2 separate regions of the Homo sapiens genome follow, and region 2 is linked to region 1. Evidence: promoter capture Hi-C in human tissues and cell types (Jung and others, 2019). All regions are on one chromosome and are shown on one strand. Each heading gives the region's core, a stretch centred on a gene start or on the middle of the fragment in contact. The rest is flanking DNA. Distances are from core to core; before and after follow the strand shown. Region 1 holds the start of CRY2 (cryptochrome circadian regulator 2). Region 2 overlaps CD82 (CD82 molecule).

Region 1 (3,823 bases), core at 1,272-3,771:
AAAAAAAAAAAAACACAACCCAGGGAGCACTGAACCTCTGCTTTGATTAAAGTTTTAAAACTTAAATGTTTGTGGACAAAGTCTAGAAGGCAACATGAAGATAAGAAATAATTGATTTGTTAGGTTTTGGGAACTGAGGTTGATTACTTGTTTTTTCATTATTGGCAAAATTTCAAGGACTTTAAAAAAATAAGTAAAATATTTTATGTAGTCAGCAACTTATGGAGCCCACATTACATGTAAGACCCAGGGCTGAGCATTACAAGGAAGACAAAACCAGACACAGGTCCTGCTGTTCAGAATAACAGTAGCTGACACAGTACAAATGCTTACTATATCCTAAGTGCTATTATCACCCTATTGCAAAGATTAAGAAAGTGAGGAACAGAGAGGTTAACTAGCTTATCCAAGGTCACAGAGAATAAAAGCAGAACTAGAATTTGAACTCAGCAACTCCAATGTGCAAAGCCTCAGGTTTAACCATTACATCACACTGCCTCTCATGATAGCTTAATAAGAGAGCGAGGGGAGGGGAGGGAAGTGACTTTTGATCATTCAACAAATGTTTTTTGAGCACCTACTATATGTTAGGTACCAGAGTACCAGCTGAGAAGACACTGAAAAGTAAGACAAGCACAGTCCCTGCCTCACAGGGTTCACGGAATACAGATATAGCATTATGGGAATTTAGAGGAGAAAAAGGGAAGAGGACCCATCTCTGAGGTTAAGGGAGAACCACCTCCTTACACTCTGTTTCATTCCTAGCAAAGCACCAACCTTGTGGAGAGAAGAGGGCATAGGAGAGGGGGAACACAAAACCTTAAAATAAAAGTAATGAAAGATTGCATCGATTTATTCAGCAAGAATTTGGAAAGGAAATTCAAAAATAAGGAAAGGGTCAGGTAAGCGGACTAGGATAAACCTTTAAGAGCCTGCCAATATGAGACTCTAGTTCAATTTTTACTCAAATAATCCTTGAGCGTTAGGTGCCAAGCCCTGAGCTAGACTTCAGACATACAACTGTATGTAAATAAGCCACAGCCCCTGCTCTCCAGGAGTTTATACTCTAATGGGGCAGAAAGACTTTTAAGCAAGAAATTTCAGTATTGTGTGCCAAGACAAGTGACCAAAAAGAAGCACAGAATAAGATGGGGCACTATTCAGGTTGGGATCAGACAGCAAGAAGGTGACATCTATACTGAACAATGATACAGAGCAAACTGGAGTTAGAAACAAAGATGGAAGAGGGAGTGTGATCTAGACTGCTGGAACAGCTCGTGAAAAGCCCTGGAAATGACAGAGAATGCCTAGGATTGCAGTGACACTGGTTTAGAGAGTGGTGCCAATTAATGCCACTAAATTGCAGACTAAATTACTAAATGCTTTCATCACTCTGTCCCAGGTCCAGGAAGGGTTCCAAGCATGGGCTCAACCTAGGGTCAAGTTGAAACAGACTGTTTTCCACCTGATAACCCCAAAGCTGCAGCTTGACTAAGCCGTCTTAGCCCAAGAGGGTTCCACCTGGCGTCCCAGAAGAATGGGGACAGTGTCCTCCACATCTCTGAACCCTACCCGGAATCCAGTACAGTGCTTTGCACACACTGGATCTACTAAACAGACTAAAAGAAAATAAATTCATCTGATGGCATAATTACTATCTCAATTCAAGTCCCCCACATTCCCAGTCCTTACTCCCAAATCCTCTACTGCTGCATATTAGGGCACTCCTTCCCCGTCCTTAGACTCTGCCACTTGGAATTACCAAGGATCTTCGCACAAAGAGAAGTATAGCTTCGTGGATAAAAGCAGAAATTTCGAAATCAGAATAATCTGGGTGAAATCCTCTTAGCAGCTTTATGATATTGAATAAGTCACTCAACCTGCGGCACCCTCCGTTTTCTTCATCTGTGAAACGAAAACAACAGCAGCTTTTTCACTGGGGTTCGCTAAATGAATGTAACTGGGCTGAGTTGAGAATAGTAAATGAGACCGTCTACGTAAGGAGATGATCATGTCTCTTGCCATATAAAGTGCACTTAATAAATGGCAGCTGTAGTAGAATGATGTAGATGGTGATGGTGACGATGTTGGTGATAATAGGAAGGTCAGCTGTCAGTCTTGCAAGTCACTGGCTGTAGTCACAGCAACCCCTACCAGCCCAGGCAGCTTCTTCTAGAAGCAGGCCCTGAACAGGACGTGGGTAAGAGATCCGCTGTCCCTTGAGACTTGGCCTACTCCCGGCACTCCGCGGACAGCCCCAGCCTGCGGACAGCCCCAGCCTGCGTCACTTGTCCGCATGCCAGCTCCACCCGGGCGGACCCACACATGGTAGGAACGTGAGGGGGCGGGCCTGTTCCGGCGCCTCTGGGCCAATCGCCAGGTGGAAGGCACTCAGCCAATGGCAGAGGGGCTCTGGGGCCCTGTGGGCGGGGACTAAGGGTGGAGTTGCGGCGTCATAGGTCACTGGGCGGGCTATGGGCGGGGTCCACGTCGCCTACCGGGGCGGAGCGGGGGTGGCTGGAGCAGTCTGGACAGTCATGGCGGCGACTGTGGCGACGGCGGCAGCTGTGGCCCCGGCGCCAGCGCCCGGCACGGACAGCGCCTCTTCGGTGCACTGGTTCCGCAAAGGGCTGCGACTCCACGACAACCCGGCGTTGCTGGCGGCCGTGCGCGGGGCGCGCTGCGTGCGCTGCGTTTACATTCTCGACCCGTGGTTCGCGGCCTCCTCCTCAGTCGGGATCAACCGATGGAGGTGAGGGGACCCGGGGCTGGGTGGCGGGGACGCAGCCAGGACCCTGACCCTGGGGTGACCGGCGAACAGCACGATCCCCCCAACCCCGCCACGGCTGGAAGGCCAGAGGGGAGAAGCCGAGACCGGGGAAGTAATTCGTCATGGTCCTAACGCGCCGGTGGGCCAGGGTTCAGCCTCTGACAAAGCGCGTTCGCACTGTTACCCCTTTGAGCCTCACAACTGCCTGTGGAACGGAGATCATGATCCCCGTTGTACAGATGAGACCCTTGAGCCCTGGAGACCCAAAGTCGACCTGCCCAAGGACTTGTAGCCAGTGAGTGGCAGAACAGGGGCTCCTGGTCTAGGGCTCTTACGGTCTACTCAGGGAGGGGCGGAAGGGAGATAACGTAGTGTGAGGGCGGGACGGGTTTTTGCTCGCATTCTTCAAGAGCCCGTTGCTGGGCTCGGGGAGATCACTCCGAAGCCTCTGGCTCGTTTGAATCCGCCCTACCACCCATCCTGGCTACCCTGCACCCAGACCGTCCTGCCTCTAGGGGTGTCAAGTGACCCTGGCTTAGCATTAAATAAGGTCTTCTCCCCTATATTATAAATAAAGAAGCCAAAGGCGTCTTCAGGTGGAGTCGCTTTATGTTCAAAGCTCCAGAGAATCCAGGGGATTCTCCAAAATGTTTTAAGCCCTGCTCTGGAGCTTTGACCTCGATAGAAAAATTTAAAAGAATCCAAAGTGTCACCCCGTCATCCTCTTGTCATGATTTTAGAGGACAGTAGAGCCATTAGAGATGAGACTTTTATGAACTGTTGTGGTAAGGTTAGGGAGCAGGAAAGCCATGATATCAAGGGCCCCTCTGATGACCCCCCAGGAGATGGAGTCGACATGATCATGGAAAAAGATGAACAGGTCGTTAGTGTATTTTCACTGTAAACAGTATTCAAACTAAAGAGTTTTGAGACATAATGTACCCATCGCTCTTCAGAACACCTAGTGGCAGTCGCTCGGTTTGTTTGCATTGTTCTGGGGAATGTTTGCTTGTGGCCTTGTTGCATCGATGGACAGGGTTATTTCCAGGATAC
Region 2 (4,149 bases), core at 1,626-4,125, 1.2 Mb before region 1:
GAGCACAGCGTTCATTCAAGGACTGCCCATGGGGAGCTGCTGGAAGCTCCACCAACAGGGTTCCCTGGGAGTCAGGCTCTGAAACCCCACCTGGAAGTACCTGTCTCATTTCTCCCAATTCTTCCTTCTCAGGAACCGAGGTGGGAAGGTGTGTGGCCTTCTCCTTGGCATCCCTGCCTTCTAGGGTCCCTCGCCCCCACTGCCTTGACCAGTCCAACCATGCATTTGCCCTGAAAGGTCTCTGGGCAAGGTCCATGTGAGAGGCTAGGTGGAGCCAGGCAGGGGCTGGCTCTCGGAGGCTCCCCTCCCACCCAGGCCTGCTTATCGCCGAGGGAGGCCCTGCCCTCAGCGGGCTCTGGGTTTGCCTCCTTTTGCACAACTGACTTATTTAGAAACCCCTTCTCTGCCTGCTTTGTAAATCAGTGTTTTCTCTGTGGGGTTAGCTGAGAGCAGGTGCTGCTCTCCACCACAAGAAGGAACCCTTAATTCCTGAGCAGGGTGAGGACCAGCATAGGCAAGATGTAGATTTGGGCCAGGCGAGGTGTCTCAGGCCTGTAATCCCAGCACATTGGGAGGCTGGGCTGGGTGGATCACTTGAGGTCAGGAGTTCGAGACCAGCCCGGGCAACATGGCGAGACCCTGTCCCTGCTAAAAATACAAAAATTAGCCGGGCATGGTGACTCATGCCTGTAGCCCCAGCTACCTGGGAGGCTGAAGTGAGAGGATTGCTTAACCCCAGGAGGCAGAAGTTGCAGTGAACTGAGATCCTGCCACTGCCCTCTAGCCTGGGTGACAGGGAGACCCTGTCTCAAAAAAACAAAACAAAGCAAAACAAAAAAAAAAAAGTGAGATGTTTTTGGAGCTCTGGGGCAAGTAGCCAGGTCCCAGAAAGGCAACTGACCTCACACTCCGGCTGGCTGGCACTGCTGGCTTGGGGCTTGGGAAGGGGTGAGGGAGGATCTTTTCTGTTTTGTTTTTTGTTGTTGTTGTTTTTGTTGTTGTTTTTGTTTTTTGTTTTTTGAGATGGACTCTTACTCTGTCGCCCAGGCTGGAGTGCAGTGGTGCGATCTCGACTCACTGTAACCTCCATCTCCTGGGTTCAAGCAATTCTCCTGCCTCAGCCTCCTGAGTAGCTGGGATTACGGGCACCCACCACCATGACTACATAGAGGGAGGATCTTTTGACCATATAGTTGATACCGAAGTTCCAGGTCCCTCAGTCTTGGGGCCCCCTCCAGGCATCTACCCTGCTGTCTTGGGGGCCCTGTTTGGAGAGGCTGCACTCTGGTCCTTGGAAGAAGGAAACTGAGCTGGGCTTTCCTCCCTGTCCCTCCTTCTCCCTGAAGCTGCCCTGTGGGAGGTGTAAGGATTCACCAAGAAGTTGCATGGGTCTGGCTCTGGTGCCTGGCAGACCATGGTGGTTAGGTGTGCATTCAGCATTCACGTACCCCACACAACTATTCTGTGCCAGGCTTGGCGCTAGCCACGGGGGACCCTGTAGTGAGCGTGCCAGATGTGGTCCCTGCCCCCACGGAGCTGATGTGCTAGTGGAGAGAGATGATAAGCCCTGAAAACCAACAAGCATGTAACGTCAGTGCTCTAAAGAGAAATACAGCATGCTTTCCCTTGTGGGATAAGGGAGGCCGGGGAGGGGTGGTTGATTGGTTGGGGGAGAGGGGATGGGGAAGGGCTGATATTTTGTAGAGTGGTCTGGTAAGGCCTTTCTGAGGAGGTGACATTGGAGCAGAGCCCTGAAGGAAGCAGAGGGTGAGCCATGTTAATGTCTAGGGGAAGAGCATTCCAGGCGGTGGGAACAGCAGGTGCAAAGGCCCCAAGGCAGGAGTGTGCCTGGCACAAAGACAGCACAGAAATCTAGTCAGTTGAAGCAGAGGGAGGAAGAACAGAGGACAGAAGGCCTGGGGAGGCAGACAAGTGGTGTAGGACCTCCTAGGCTGTTATGGGGACAATGACGGTGGGAACTGCCCTGGAGGTGGGAGGCCCCTACGGGGTTTTCAGCAGTGACATGAGAATATTGATGTTTACAGGGCCAGGCTGCTGCCAAGCGCAGAAGAGATAGTGGGGCAGGAGTGGTTGGCACTGCCTGCATCGGGCACCCTGGGAGCGCCAGGAAAGTGGCTGGAGCCATGAGCGTGTCCCAGGGTTGCTGAGGGGAACGGGGGGAGGCAGTTTAAGTAGGGGTGACCACAGGTGGGCACGGGTTTCAGGAAATCTGACCCTGACCTTTGTCCTCCCCCCTGCAGCTGAAGCAGGAGATGGGCGGCATCGTGACTGAGCTCATTCGAGACTACAACAGCAGTCGCGAGGACAGCCTGCAGGATGCCTGGGACTACGTGCAGGCTCAGGTGAGGTGGGGCGGGGCTGCAGGAGGCTCTCTGGCCTGGGTGTCCCTGCATTTGGGGCTCTGTGCACCCACATGTCTGGGACTGGCATCTGCAGTGCTCGTGTGTGCCTGACAGTTTGTAGGAGAGTGTGCTTCTATGGGGGCAGGGCACCCCAGTTAGCACCACAACTCCCTGCTCAGGGGGCCCAGAGACTCAGAGGCAGCTTCACAGCTCTGTGCTCCCATTTGTGGCCAGAGAGCATGGGGGCAGTTGTCAGCCCTCTTATCTCAAGCTACACTGGGGAGCGTTGGGAGCTCCACTCTGGGTTTTAGGAAACTGGGAGCCAAGGCTGATATGCTGAGAAGTCCCAGTGAAGGCTGCCTCTGGGGAAGGGCACTAGCTGGGGAGGTGTTGGGGAGCCTTCTAGGGCAAAAGGAGTATTTTAGCCAAATCTTGATACTGGTTTCGCCAGTATGTGCACATACGTAAAAATGCACCAAGCTGAATGTGTGCCCATTAGTTCATGTGTATTATACCTCCATTAAAGTGAGAGAGATGGATGGATGGATGGGTGGACAGATGGACGGACGGACTGACCGACTGACCAACAGATAGACTGACCAGGTTCCCAGCCTGTCTCAATAGTGATCCAATGACCACCTGGCTCTCCTTTCTTGTGGTCCCGGATGCTGCATGTGCCCTTGGCTGGGACCTGACATCTCTGATCTGCAATCCTGTGAGGGCGCAGGACACAGTGGTCACTTAGGGCCTGTTGACACCTCAGGGGAGGGATGTGGAGTACAAAGGGCATGGGCAGCAGGAGAAAGCCTGACTCAGCGGCACCAGGAGAGTTTGCAGAGAGGACACTCCATCTAGGTGACATGGACATGGCCATTTTCTCAGTGGAGGAAGGGGAGAGCGATGTTTTCTGGCCCTGACCGAGGAGATCAGGTGTGGGGGTTGTGGCAGCTGGAAGGCTTGGTGCACACAAGGAAATGTTTTGGTCGCATATGTAGTTTGACCCACAATTGCTGAGACTTTGCTAATTTTAGCAAAGTCTGGATGTCACCAGTGACATAAACCAGTGCCACCTGACAAGGGACCTGGGAGGAGAAGTGGGTCCCTTGGGAGGTGGTAAGCATCCTACCCTGGAAAGTCATTGGCTGGTTCTAGATGATTCTGATGCTGTCAGATGCTGCTTAGGCCGGTGGTAAGTCAGACTCCCAAGGCCTGGAGTGCTAACACTGCCACAGCCGCTAGACCTTTGCTGAGCCTGCTTCCTCATCTATACAATGGGGCTACTGACCCATGCCGTGTGAGATACATTGTTAAAGCCTGAAGCACTTAGGCAGCATTTATTATGTGGTATGTTGGTGGTGATGTTTTAGTCACCATGCACATCCATGGAGACACAGGCGGAGGTGGCGTGTGCTGCTGGGGACCAGGTACAGCCGGAGTCAGGCCAAGGGGTTGCTTGGAAGGAGGCTCTGTCGTAGACGGGCCAAGGAGACCTGCCTCATTTTGCTCTGGTGTAGGATGGCCTGTGGGTGCCCCCAGCCTTGCAGACCTGTGCACCCCTCAGAGGTGCCAGCCTTTTCTTGGAGAGAGGAGGCAGCCCGGCTGCTGGAACAAGCACCTGTAAACCTGGATTAGAAACTGCCTGGAGCTGAGCATTTCTGAGTGTGCCTGGCACGCCCCCTGCTGGCCACTGGCTACTGGTCAGGCGACACCCCTCGGAGCTAGGAAGGAAGCGGTCCAGGAACTGACCCCTGCTGTGACCGTGGCTATCCCATTGAATCCTCCCAGG

What was found. The method cuts DNA at HindIII sites, captures the fragments that hold promoters and counts their contacts. A contact is called where the count stands out against the background at its distance.
Region 2: a contact is called between a fragment that was not itself captured here and the fragment with the promoter of CRY2 in region 1, in 1 of the 25 tissues and cell types used here (pancreas).

Annotation. Positions count from the first base shown.
Region 1 is chr11:45,844,954-45,848,776 of GRCh38, forward strand. CRY2 (cryptochrome circadian regulator 2) reads left to right here and starts at 2,522. Exons shown (of 12, transcript NM_021117.5): 1 at 2,522-2,752. The coding sequence starts at 2,538. RefSeq lists enhancers at 1,973-2,082, 2,133-2,182, 2,543-2,782, 2,713-3,234 and a silencer at 3,183-3,292. The HindIII fragment of the contact is 4,522 bases long and covers 1,793-3,823 here.
Region 2 is chr11:44,613,011-44,617,159 of GRCh38, forward strand. CD82 (CD82 molecule) reads left to right here. Exons shown (of 10, transcript NM_002231.4): 7 at 2,262-2,363. Among named protein-coding and RNA genes, the nearest start is that of CD82-AS1, 9.7 kb to the left of the region's middle. RefSeq lists an enhancer at 3,407-3,756. The HindIII fragment of the contact is 7,048 bases long and covers 1-4,149 here.